Linked DNA regions of Homo sapiens: regions 2 and 3 are each linked to region 1. Evidence: promoter capture Hi-C in 16 types of primary human blood cells and fetal thymus (Javierre and others, 2016). All regions are on one chromosome and are shown on one strand. The core of a region is centred on a gene start or on the middle of the fragment in contact, and the rest is flanking DNA. Distances in the headings are between cores, read along the strand shown.

What was found. The method cuts DNA at HindIII sites, captures the fragments that hold promoters and counts their contacts. A CHiCAGO score of 5 or more calls a contact.
Region 2: a fragment that was not itself captured here is called in contact with the fragment with the promoter of SDE2 in region 1 in 1 of 17 cell types (neutrophils); the score reaches 5.9 in neutrophils.
Region 3: a fragment that was not itself captured here is called in contact with the fragment with the promoter of SDE2 in region 1 in 3 of 17 cell types (neutrophils, total CD4 T cells and naive CD4 T cells); the score reaches 11.5 in neutrophils.

The regions. Positions count from the first base shown.
Region 1 is chr1:225,996,882-226,001,004 of GRCh38, reverse strand. SDE2 (spliceosome associated SDE2) reads left to right here and starts at 1,662. Exons shown (of 7, transcript NM_152608.4): 1 at 1,662-1,812. The coding sequence starts at 1,693. RefSeq lists enhancers at 778-827, 908-1,007, 1,028-1,177, 1,698-1,807, 3,821-3,910 and 1 more and a silencer at 1,358-1,637. The HindIII fragment of the contact is 16,010 bases long and covers 1-2,471 here.
Region 2 is chr1:225,379,260-225,383,382 of GRCh38, reverse strand. It overlaps DNAH14 (dynein axonemal heavy chain 14), which reads right to left. Exons shown (of 86, transcript NM_001367479.1): 80 at 3,061-3,224; 81 at 1,804-2,000. Among named protein-coding and RNA genes, the nearest start is that of LBR, 47 kb to the left of the region's middle. The HindIII fragment of the contact is 938 bases long and covers 1,354-2,291 here.
Region 3 is chr1:225,405,159-225,409,281 of GRCh38, reverse strand. It overlaps LBR (lamin B receptor), which reads left to right. Exons shown (of 14, transcript NM_002296.4): 11 at 2,450-2,618. Among named protein-coding and RNA genes, the nearest start is that of LBR, 21 kb to the left of the region's middle. The HindIII fragment of the contact is 4,055 bases long and covers 597-4,123 here.

The DNA.
Region 1 (4,123 bases), core at 413-2,912:
CTGGAGGACAGAGAGCTGGGGAGCAGACTGCAGAGGGACTTGAGGTTTCTGGAGTTTGGACGGCTTACATGTAACCTGGCGACACCTTCACGCCCCAGGGTTGCCATGGCACCACCTTTCCGAAATACTGCTTCCTAGGTACAATATATCTTTTTTTTCTGAAACGGAGACTCTCTCTGTCGCCCAGGCTGGAGTGCGATGGCACGATCTCAGCTCACTGCAACCTCTGCCTCCCGGGTTCAAGCGATTCTCCTGCCTCAGCCTCCTGAATAGCTGGGATTACAGACGCGCACCACCACGCCCGGCTAATTATTGTATTTTTAGTAGAGATGGGGTTTCACCATGTTGGTGAGGCTGGTTTCGAACTCCTGACCTCGAGATCCGCCCGCCTCAGTCTCCCAAAGTGCTGGATTACAGGCATGAGCCACCGCGCCCGGCCAGTACAATCTATCTTTATTATTTTTTTTTTTGTAATTTTTATTTATCTACTGGCATCCCCATGGAGGCCCTTTCTCTCCCCAACTTTCCCTCGTGTGTGAAATAAAGACCACTGAATCTATTAACTTCCCAGGCCTTGAAATTCCATTTTCGCACATACTGCCACCGCTAAACGATTTCTGAATTTTTTGTTGTTACCCCCTCAGCTAGGAGTTCCATTTGCCAAGCATTTTAACAGCAGAGAAGGCAATTCTGTGGGCCGATGCATTTGTGTTTAGCAGGCACAGATATCTCCAAATAACCTTCCTATCTTCACACTGGTGGCTTTTGAATTGTTCAGGGTTTTAGAAATACCATAATCTCATTCTGTTAAATATTAAGGGACTCTTTCGGATTCCCTGAGCCTTAAGGTTACGTTATGCAAATCTGTCCGAGTGTGTTTCCATGGTGCAGAATAAAAGTTATGGTAGGGTTTTTTGAAGCAGCATGACTATAAACGTCACTCCTGTCACTGCCTTTCACAAGAGCCCACTTGCTGTGAAATATTTTGAAAACAGAGCTGAAGTGGAGATAACGCAGTGCACAAACAGGCGGAAATAAGAATAAACCGTGCGTGGCAGGCAGAAACCCGGAGGTTGGCTGTTTCTGGAGGGGAAGAGAAGGCTCTGTAAAGCTGGAGGAGAAACCACGCCGGCCACTGTTTAGGGGCCTCCTGGGGGTCGTTTCCCTTGCCCCCTCGGGTTGGGGAGCTCCTCTAGGCCAAGGAAGCGGCCCCCTAAAACCGCTTCCGGGACTGCAGCTTCTCTCCCCACACTCTCAAGGAGCAGAGCCTTCTCGGGCCACAATTCTCCGCGACCCAAAAATAACTACACAGATGTGAGGAAAAGGGCCAAAGCCTACAGCACAAGGTGGTTCTCAGTTAAAGCCTTATCGCTTACGGCCAGGAAGCTCGAAACCTAACCCAGCGCCAGCCTTTTATAGCCGGTCCCTCGAGCCCCGCCCTAGCAACTTCTCCTAGCAACGCCTCGCCCCGTGCTCTGCCGCCTTATCTGCCTCCGCCAGGCCTTTCCTGTTCCCCTCCCCCAGCCCGCACCGCCCCGCCGCCCGGCTCACTTGACCCGCCCCAGGGGAGGGGAGGGGTGAACGGAAGCGTGAGGGGCGGGGCGTTGGAAGATGCTCGCGTCATCAAGAGGCGCCGGGCGAGTTGCGGCGCCTGGTGTCTCAGAGAGGCTTGAGGTTCGGGTAGTCGGTGACATGGCGGAGGCCGCGGCGCTGGTGTGGATTCGCGGCCCTGGCTTCGGGTGCAAGGCGGTGCGGTGTGCCTCGGGTCGGTGCACCGTCCGGGATTTTATCCACCGGCACTGCCAAGATCAGGTGAGGATTTCGGTTCCTGTTAGGAAGGAGAAAGAGGCAGACAGGTGGCAGCGCTGGGTGCGGAGTAGGTCTGTCCGGGGCGGGGGTACGTTTATTCTCTGGGGTTTTCACTCGTTGAGGCTGAGAGTTCCTCAGTGTTAAGGTGCTTCGAATTGTTACTGAGACCTTCCTTTGCTTTTCTTTTGTGGTGGTGGTTTTGCCTTCCCACCAAGAGGGAGAAAAAAACTGTTACAGGCACTTAGTCCCGCTCACAGTTACAAATACTTTGTTTCTCTTTCTTTATCCGTAAATATAATGGTCTTCTGGCAGTTGGGCCGGCTGATTTTTAAGGCTCCAGTCTTCACCTTCTTACTATGGTTATGTGACGTGTATTTTGTCCACTCATCACACAGCCTTGTTAGCCCCAGCCTAGAGAAGTATGTCATATCCAAACCCAGGCCAAAGGATGATTGGGAAGGAAAATTGATTCTTCTGGTCAGTCGTTGTGACCAAGCATTCACACGTGTGTCCTGTTGAGGGCCTGGGTTCTTAGGGCCTGTTACGTAGAAGTGTTCACTATTAATTTGATGGTCTCATTTGTCCGTGCATATTTGTGAAAACCTACCAGGGACTTCCAGAGTTACACGTGAGCTTTTACTGAACTTTCAAGTAAGTAAGCTTTTACCAGCTATAAGATATTAAACCTGTTCAGTTGTCAAAAGAATTTAGTGGTTTCCCTGAATCTAATTTTAATGTTGGCACTTGATCTAGAACTCTGTTCTTTCCGCACCTCATCCGTGCTTTCCTCGGCTATTTCCTCTGCTTACTATTTATAAGCTTAACAAATGTTAACACTGCAGTCTAGACCAAAATTTTAAGAGACTTGGATCGATTCCGTGAAGAAGCAATGTGTGTTTGCAAATAATACGGTTTTTCACTTTCCATGTTTTCCTTCCTGCTCTGTAATCCAGTCTAAAAACTGTAAGCACAACTGTTTTTGACCATGAAAATAATTGCATTCTAATTCCTTTGAAAATAATTCTTATTTCATGAGTACAGTGTTCTTTTCTCCCCCTCCCCCACCCCCGACGGAGTTTGACTCCCGTTGCCCGGGCTGGAGTGCAATGGCGTGATCTCGGCCCACTGCAACCTCCGCCTCGCTGAGTTCAAGCGGTTCTCCTGCCTCAGCCTCCCAAATAGCTGGGATTGCAGTCGCCCGCCACCATGCCTGGCTAATTTTTGTATTTTTAGTAGAGACGGGGTTTCACCACGTTGGCCAGGTCTTGAACTCCTGACCTCGGGTGATCCGCCCACCTCAGCCTCACAAAGTGCTGGGATTACAGGCTTGAGCCACTCCTCCCGGCCTATGAGTACAGTTTTCAAACTTGCTGACAATTGATCCAAAGTGAAACCAGAAAAAATAGGATCTTAATCATGAGGTATGTTGGAAAAAAGAATTTTTAAATCGGAAGCAAGAAATATAGGCCAGGCGTGGTGGCTCACGCCTGTAATTCCAACACTTAGGGAGGTCGAGGCGGGCAGATCACCTGAGGTCAGAAGTTCGAGACCAGCTTGGCAACATGGTGAAACCCCATCTCTCCTAAAAATACACAAAAATTAGCCAGGCGTGGCGGCAGACGCCTGTAATCCCAGCTACCCAGGAGGCTGAAGCAGAAGAATCATTTGAACCTGAGAGGTGGAGGTTGCAGTGAGCCGAGATTGAGCCATTGCACTCCAAACTGGGTGACAGAGCAAGACTCGGTCTGAAAAAGTATATATAAAGAAATATAAATGAGTGGATTCAGTCAGAAACTTAAGGAACATGACCATAGCAAATATGAATAGAAACACAAAAGAATATTAGTTGAGATACTGGAACAAGTAAGAATAGCTCAAGTTCACACCTATGTTTTTAAAAACAAAACTATTCTGAGACATGATGAAGTTAGTGTTAACTCCCACTGAGAAAATAAAAATCTGCCCTGCTTTTCATCAGGCTGGGATAACAGACACAGATAAAGCCAGCTGCAAAGTTTTTGTTTTTTGTTTTTGTTTCCCCCACACTACACCGATGTACAGCTGCAGAGTTAACAGGAAATGGTGATGTGTCATAATGTCATAACGACCCCCACGAAGGTCTGCTGCTTTCTTATTCACTGAGAAACCTTGGTCTCAAAAACCATAGAATATATAAGAAATTTTGCTGTTTAAAGTTCTCTCAATAAGAGGGAACCTTCCCACTCTTGCCTTGTAGAGAAGCATTCTTGATTTCCAACCCAGGTCAGAGCTTCCCATTAAGGGTTTCTGGACACAACTTTCCACATTTATCTTA
Region 2 (4,123 bases), core at 573-3,072, 620 kb after region 1:
CATTGGAGTGGGGGTTCCCTAAGATCCTTTCGAGCTCTGAAGTCCTGTGATTCGGATGTGTCTCCACATCTCAATTTTTCATCACAGCTTGTATTCAATTTTAAGGAATTATAATTGTTATTATTTCCTCTCGTCTGTCTTCATGTTTTCTACCTAGGTTTTAAAAATAACTTCATTGAGATATAACTCATATGCCATACAACTTACTTATTTAAAGTGTACAAATGAATGGTTTTTCGTATAATCACTGAGTTGTGCAACTACCACTGTAGTCAATTGTAGAACGTTTTCATGAGTCCAAAAGAAAACCCTCTCAGCATCCATTCTCCAGTTCTCTGTCACCCACAAACTGAGGCAACCAATAATCTATTTTCTGTCACTATTCTGGACATTTCTTGTAAATGGAATCATACAATATATGGTCTTTTGTGATGGCCTTCCTACACTTAGCACAGAAGAACTACTGTTTTCAAGGTTTATCCATGTGATAGCCTGTATCAGTACTTCATTCATTTTGCTGGCTGAATAATATTTCATTACAGGGACATACCATATTTTATCCATTCATCAGTCAATGGACATTTGAGTTGTTTTCACCTTTTGGGTATTACAAATAATGCTGCCATGAACATTCATGTGCAAGTTTTTGGGTGGACTTTTTTTTTTTTTGAGACAGAGTGTCCCTCTGTTGCCCAGGCTGGAGTGCAATGGCATGATCTCAGTTCACTGCAACCTCTGCCTTCTGGGTTCAAGCAATTCTCCTCCCTTAGCCTCACAAGTAGCTGGGATTTCAGGTACCCACCACCATGCCTGGCCATTTTATTATTATTATTATTTTTAGTAGAGACGGGGTTTCACCATGTTTGCCAGGCTGGTCTCAAACTCCTAACCTCAGGTGATCCGCCACCTTGGCCTCCAAAAGTGCTGAGATTACAAGCATGAGGCCCTGTGCCCGGCCTGGATTTATGCTTTAATTTCTGTTGGATATATTCCTAGGAGTGAAATTGCTGGGTCAAATGGTAAATCTGTTTAACTTTTTGAGGAACTACTGGACTATTTCCAAAGTAGCTGCACCATTTTTCATTCCCATGAGTGGTGCATTTGGGTTCCAATTTCTCCCAATGCTTGTTTTTATGTATTTTTAATTCTTTCCATCTTAGTAGGTGTGAAGTTGTATCTCATTGTGGTTTTGATTTGCATTTCCCTCAAAGCAAATGCTGTTGAACATCTTTTCACATGTCTACACAGGTTTTCAATCTGGTATAGGATTCAGGGTTCTGGAAAAGGCCAGTGCTAATCCTAAGGGGAGAAGTTCATTTCTGGAGAAATAGTGTTTGTGTCCAACATCAAGCTTGTTAATTTCCTACTCTGTGCTGCCAGATCTTCCATGGCTTATTTTATTCCTGGTCTAATACATTTTGTGTTTTTACAATTTGGTCTTCTGTTTAAGACCATGACCCAGTAATTTCTTCATCATCTTGTTTAGCTTTGTTTTTATTTTAAAAGCAATTAAACTCAACACTTATAGTAATACCAAGAGTGCACCTACTTTGACATGAACTGCCATGATACATAGTTCACATACACAGATAGTGAGAACTAAGTGATGGTGCTGCCTGGCTAACAGTGACTGTTAAGAGGCATTCCAACTTCAGAGATGTGAAAATATGAAAAAGTACGTCAGCATCTTTTAAGAGTTACATATTTCATCACACAGATGCACCATTTACCTTCACCATTCCCTTGAACTTGGACATTTATTTCAAGCAAGCAAGAAAATAGGAAATAATAATAATTGCTTACCTGCCACAATGTAGGCACTCTCATATTAAGAAAAGAGTTAAATATTTCCTCCAATTCTTGGGTGAGGATGATCTCTCCTTTTATAGCAAGCTGAAGATCTTTTAAGGATTTATGTATGACAAATAATAACTTATCAAATCGTTTAATTTCTTGCTTCAAAAAGGTTAGCAAGACACAATGGATAAGGGGGTCGTGATCTGGATTTTAAAAAGAAATAAAATTTTGATATTTTACAGATTAAAAAGAGGCTTTACATGGAGGGACTTAGGCTTTGAAAGTTAAGGGAATTTTGTGTGTCTTGACCAGGGGTTGATAAACATTTTCTGTAGAAGGTCAGATAGCAAACATTTTAGGGTATGGGGACCACACCACCTCTGTGAAAGCTACTCAGCTCTCCCCTTGTAGTGTGGGTGCGGCCACACTATCTACTATGTGTGGATGCATAGACAATATGTCATGAGTAAGTGTGGCTGTGTTCCAGTAAAGCTTTACTTATGGCACTCAAATTGGAGTTTCATATAACATTTATGTGTCACAAACTATATTCCTTCTTTTGATTTTTTTTAACCATTAAAAAATGCAAAAGCCATTTTAGTTCACAGGCTGTACAAAAACAAATGGTGGGCTGGATTTGGCCTGCGAGCCCTAATTTGCTGACCTTTGATTGAGACTCAACAATGACACTGTTTTGATAAACTATTGCTCAATATTTGGTTCCCAAATAAACTTCTGCAAAGGGATAAAATATGGGTATTAAAATTTAACTGGGAAAATTATCATAGTCTAGCAATTTAGCCACTTAGAGCTGGGTTTGGAGTCATCTCTGGGCAATCAGGCTTCCTCTGTCTTCCTGGGCCTGCCCTGATTCCCCTTAGCTTCTTGGAGTCAAGTGGTCTTTCAGCAGAAGGTCCATCTAAACTTCCGCTGTTCCAGAAGGCAGAGAGGCAGAGAGAACAGGCACCTAGAACTCTTGACAATCTCCAAAGCAGAGTTGCTGCTTTCTAGTTTGCTACACTTGTTATTTCTTCACTTTTGATTTCAGTGCCACACGCTACCCACCCCCAAACTAAAGCGTGATTTTCTTCTGTGCTCTCTGTCTTTCAACTTGGAGAGAGGAGGCAGAGACTGAGTTTTCCATCTTATCTCAGTATTTTCACTTCTACAGAATTTTTGTCTTATCTTTACCTTACTCCTGACACCAGAGTCCTTTCTTGAGGAGAGTGAGGTAAGGGGAAAAAGCTCCTGTCCCATGCTCACCTTTGAGATTTTTAGAAAGAGACTCCCAAATGGAGCTTGACATCATGCTCTTCAATGTGCTTGGAGTTCCAACAGCAATTTCTTCTTTCTCCACTGTCAGTGGCAGCCGCTTTAGCAAGTCGGATAGAATTTCCATCACCAGTTCATCCTTACTCTGCTCAGGTCTGCAAAAAAAACCAAGAGAAGAATGAGACACAGAACAGGAAGTGGGGAGATGGGGAGAGATTTGTTAAAGGATTCAAGATTACTGGTAGACAGGAGGAATATGTTTAGTGTTCTATACCACTGTAGGATGAGTATAGGTAACAAAAATAGATTATACATCTTCAAATAGCTAGAAGAGAGGATACTGAAAGTTCCCAACACAAAGGATAAATGTTTGAGATGATGGACATATGAATTGCCCTGATCTGATCACTATACATTGTATGTATTGAAACATTACTATGTACCTCAGAAATATGTACAATTATTATGTCAATTAAAAAAATAAAAATTGGCTGGGCACAGTGGCTCATGCCTGTAATCCCTGCAATTTGGGAGGCCGAGGCAGACAGATCACTTGAGGTCAGGAGTTTGAGACCAGCCTGGCCAACATGGTAAAACCCTGTCTCTACTAAAAATACAAAAGTTAGCCAGGCATGGTGGGCGCCTGTAGTCTGAGCTACTCAGGAGGCTGAGGCACGAGAATCACTTGAACCCGGGAGGCAGAGGTTGCAGTGAGCCAAGATTATGCCACTGCACTCCAGCCTGGGTGACAGAGCGAGACTCTATCTCAAAAAAAAAATTTAAAAAAAGAAAAGGAAAGGAAAATAAAATAAAAGAAATCAAGAGAAAAACAAGCTACAGATCTATCTAATGTTAGAGGGTCCTCTGCTTAAGTTCCGTCTGAAGATAAATGTATCTTCACAGAACCACAAAATTATGCTATGGATGATCTTACAGAGACCATGGAATTCATTTCATTTTGTAGATGAGAAACTGTCCAATGTACTTTAGACATTTGCAAGGAAATATGTATTATAAAAGCTTTTTTAGGATTTCTTTGTAAAATAATCATCTG
Region 3 (4,123 bases), core at 1,375-3,874, 590 kb after region 1:
AATTACAAGCGGTGGGATTAGTGCTATCCGCTAATTACGGGTTCCTGTTGCGCTCCTACCACTTCACAGACCCTGGCTCAGAGCTTGGGAAGCTGTGAAGGTGGTGATAACACTTCAAATTGACTTTAAAAATTCCACGTCGACCCAAAATTAAACATGTTTTTGAAATTAAAAAACAACTGTTTTGTAAATGCACTTACTGTTACCAGTGTAGCTTTGTTTGCTGTTATAGAATGAATCGCCAAAAGAGCATATAGGTTACAGTTTGCAAATCAAATGATATTTCACAGTTGTGCTCACCTCAGAGGCTTCTTTAAACCTTCCTTTCTAGTAGCTTTCCACTGATCAGTGATTATTTCTTCTGGTTTCTTCTATTACTAGCTTTCTGCCATGTTGTGGTTGTCACTTTTTAATTGGCTTAGAAGTTGATATTTTCTATAGATTTAGCCAAACATTGACTTGTGTTAAAAGAAAATTTTTTGCATCTTAAGGCAAAACGCTTAATGCAATATTAACATAGCCCCAGGGGTAGAGAACTAGAGTTAGGAAATTGTTTTCTGTCTGTTCTCAGTATCTCAGCCAGATGATAATAAGCTTCTTGAGGAAAGATTGTATTTTATGATTTCTTCAGCATTCTGGCATGCCACTGGGCAATTAGCAGATGCTTAATAACTTCTGTCAGGTCACTTGATAGAAATCCCTCTGTATTCAAGAATGTGCTATACCTTAAGAAAACTGAGACTACCTGTTTAAATATGCATGACCCTTCCTCTGAGCCGTCCTGTGAAAGCCTTGGGGCTCAGGAGCTGGTGGGGCTAAGGTCCTCCCCCTACCCGGCATTGGGTGCTTACCCTTTGCCCTCTCACTGCCACTCACCACACCTGCTTTTATCTGCTCCCACCAATTTGTCACCTTTATCCTCTTTTGGACCAGGAATCAGATCACAGGCCTTGAGAGAGAAGAATAAGACACTCTTGGGGACAGAAAGTTAAAACACCGTGTGTCCTCACTTATATGTGGGCGCTAAAAAAGTTGATGTCATAGAAGTATAAAGTAGAACAGAGGATATGGGAAGGTGGGAAGGGTAGGGGGAAGGGAAGGATAGGGAGAGGTTTGTTAAAGGATACAAAATTACCACTCGATAGGAGGAGTAAGTTCTAAGTTCTAGTATTCTATACCACTGTAGGATGACTATAGTTAACAGTGATACATAGTTTCAAATAGCTAGAAGGATATTGAATATTCCTAACACAAAGAAAGAATGTGTTTGAGATGATGGATATGCTAATTACCTTGATTGGATTACTATATATTACATGTATTGCAACATCACTGTGTACCCCATAAATATGTACGATTATTACATGTCAATTTTTTTTTTTAAAGAGAATAAAGTACTCTGGTTAACTAAAGAGTATAAGCCTAAGGAGCTAGATTTTGTGAGATTGGTTTTTCTGTTTCATGTGACATCTGTTTTTCTGTTCCATGGCCTATTTGCTTTCTTTTCTGGAAAAAAATGCTATTTAGAGGTACCACTCTTTTTCTTTAACCTAGAACTTTGATTCTCCAACAGAGCTTATACTGGCTAATATTTCTACATCAGTGGTCTGTACTGAGGTTCTGGGTAGTTTAGAGATTCCCTTAGGCCAGACCTTCAGAGTGTTGACCTTGGTGGTGGTTCCGTATTCTAGAGTCTGGCCTGCCCGTATCCTGGGCCAGAGGCGATCTGGCTCATGCTAACCAAATCACCAGGGAGTAATGCACTTTTATTAATTTACATGAGAAGCGAAGCTGTCAGTTCACCATGTTGCCAGGCAGCTTAATTTCTTCTGTGGAAAATGCACATGAAATGCCAGATTATGAACAGAAATTAGATTGGTCCATGTGGAATTGAAACAAAAAGAGTTGGTGATCTTATTCCTTCAGCAAGCATATTTTGAACACTTCTCTCCATGGCGGGCACTGTGCTAGGTACTGGGGTGGCAAAGGTGAAAACACACAGCCTCTGTCTTTTAGAGGCTTTTAGTGTAGTGAAGAGTGACTAGACAAGTACAGTAACCCAATTACTGCAGCCTACTGGTGGGTGGTGATATCTGAGAAGTGCCCAGGTCTGAGCAGCAGGTCAGGAGGGCAGCAGAGGGTGTAGGGCCTATGTGGAGGTTGGAGGAGGGGTTGTCAGCAGAGGGGAGGGCCTGGGCATGGGGGCATGGGAGATGCTTTAGAGATCTGTTATCTCCAGAGCATGAGCGAGAGGCTGGCGTGACGGGAGAATGTGACAGCAGAAAGACCTAGCAGGCCAGGGGAACCAGATCTCTCTCCCCTTTAACAAAAAAATGTTGATTGTGGACCCGCCCATAGCACTTTTTACATTTGCCTGTAAACTAGTACTTTATTTGAATACTTTAAACACAGAAGCTCCTTCTCCCTTTCCCCGTCTGTATCCTTATAGGAAGCGTTGTTGACGACCATGGACATCATCCACGATGGATTTGGATTCATGCTGGCTTTTGGAGACTTGGTGTGGGTTCCCTTTATTTACAGCTTCCAAGCCTTTTATTTAGTCAGTCATCCAAATGAAGTGTCTTGGCCAATGGCTTCTCTAATTATTGTTCTGAAACGTGAGTATTAATTTTAGTCTCAGTTTAATTTATTAAATATTATGTACTGAGGCTTTTATGCCCTGCTGTCTACATACTTGAAACATGCCATTTTGAATGGCCAGCATTAGCTCAGTTTGAAGCCATTTATCATGAGTAATAAAAAATCTGCATTTTGCAAAGAGAATGGATGGTTCGTACTTGGGTTCTCAGTAGTACTTGAAACAGATTATTTTAAACCATCTTGCTTTTAAATTTAATAAATTTAAGTTGTTTTAATTCGTTTTGGTAACCATACGTCTTTTCTCTTGAGTGCCTGCTTTTTCTGGTAGGCATCTTATAAAGTAAGAAGATTTGTCTTGCCTTCATAGAGCTCACATTCTAACAGGAGAAATAAGACATTCCTGCCTTGCTGTGAGGTGTGTGAGTGAGCACTAAGAGGGGCTTAGATGACGGGTGTTAAAGATAGAGAGAACTTCTCTCTGGGGAGCGTTAGTGTGAACTTATCGGAGGATATGGTGTTCGATTGGAGTTTTAGAGGGGAAAATGGGATGGGGAGATCGAAAAGTCAGGCACTGGGAACAGCTCAGCAAGGGTGTGTGGTGGGGAAGTGTGAGATGAGGTTGGGAAAGACTGAGAAGTCCAGTTTGGCTGCAGCTGCGGTCCACCAGGGTCAGTCATGGATTTTACTTCAGGATGAATTTTCATTGTTCTTACACTGTTCACTAAACACTTATACTAGAGGTTGGGCAGGGAAAATTAGCAGTGAACTGCAAATACAGATAGTTTTGCTACACAAGTTAGTATCTGTGGTAGAAGAAGTTCAAACCATTGGTTAAAATTAAGATTTAGTTTCACCAGTGGTTTGGATGTCCATGTCATCCATTTTATTATTCAAGACAGTGTATTTTATAGTTCAGCTAAAAATGGGGAATGTCTTAGTTTGTTTTGTGCTGCTCGAACAGAATAGCTGAGACTAGGTAATTTGTCATGAAATTTATTTGGCTCATGGTTCTGGAGGCCAGGAAGTCAAAGAGCATGGTGCTGGAATCTGGCAAGACCCCTTCTGCTGCAGCATCCCAGGGTGGAAGGTGGAAGGACAAGAGAGAGTGAGGGAGGGCAAGAGAGAGTGAGGAAGAGCAAGAGGGGCTGAACATACTTTTATAACAAACCCACTCGAGATACTGAGCCCACTCCTGTGATAGCCACATTAATCTGTCCATGAGGGCAGAACCCTCATGACCTAATCATCTCTTAAAGGTGCTACCTCTCCACACTGTTGCATTGAGGATTACGTTTCCAACACGTGAACTTTGGAGAACACATTCAAACCAAAGCAGGAAGTAAAGTTATTCTCTTACTAGTTTATTGAGGATCGACTATATAATAGTTAAATGTCAGTGATAGATTGATTTTTGACATTCTGAAATTTGGATAAAATTAGGAACTTATAGACTTAAAGTGGGATTCAGCATGTATTTAAAGTGCAGGATGTTTTGGTGCTGATTCTAAGCTAGTGTTTGATA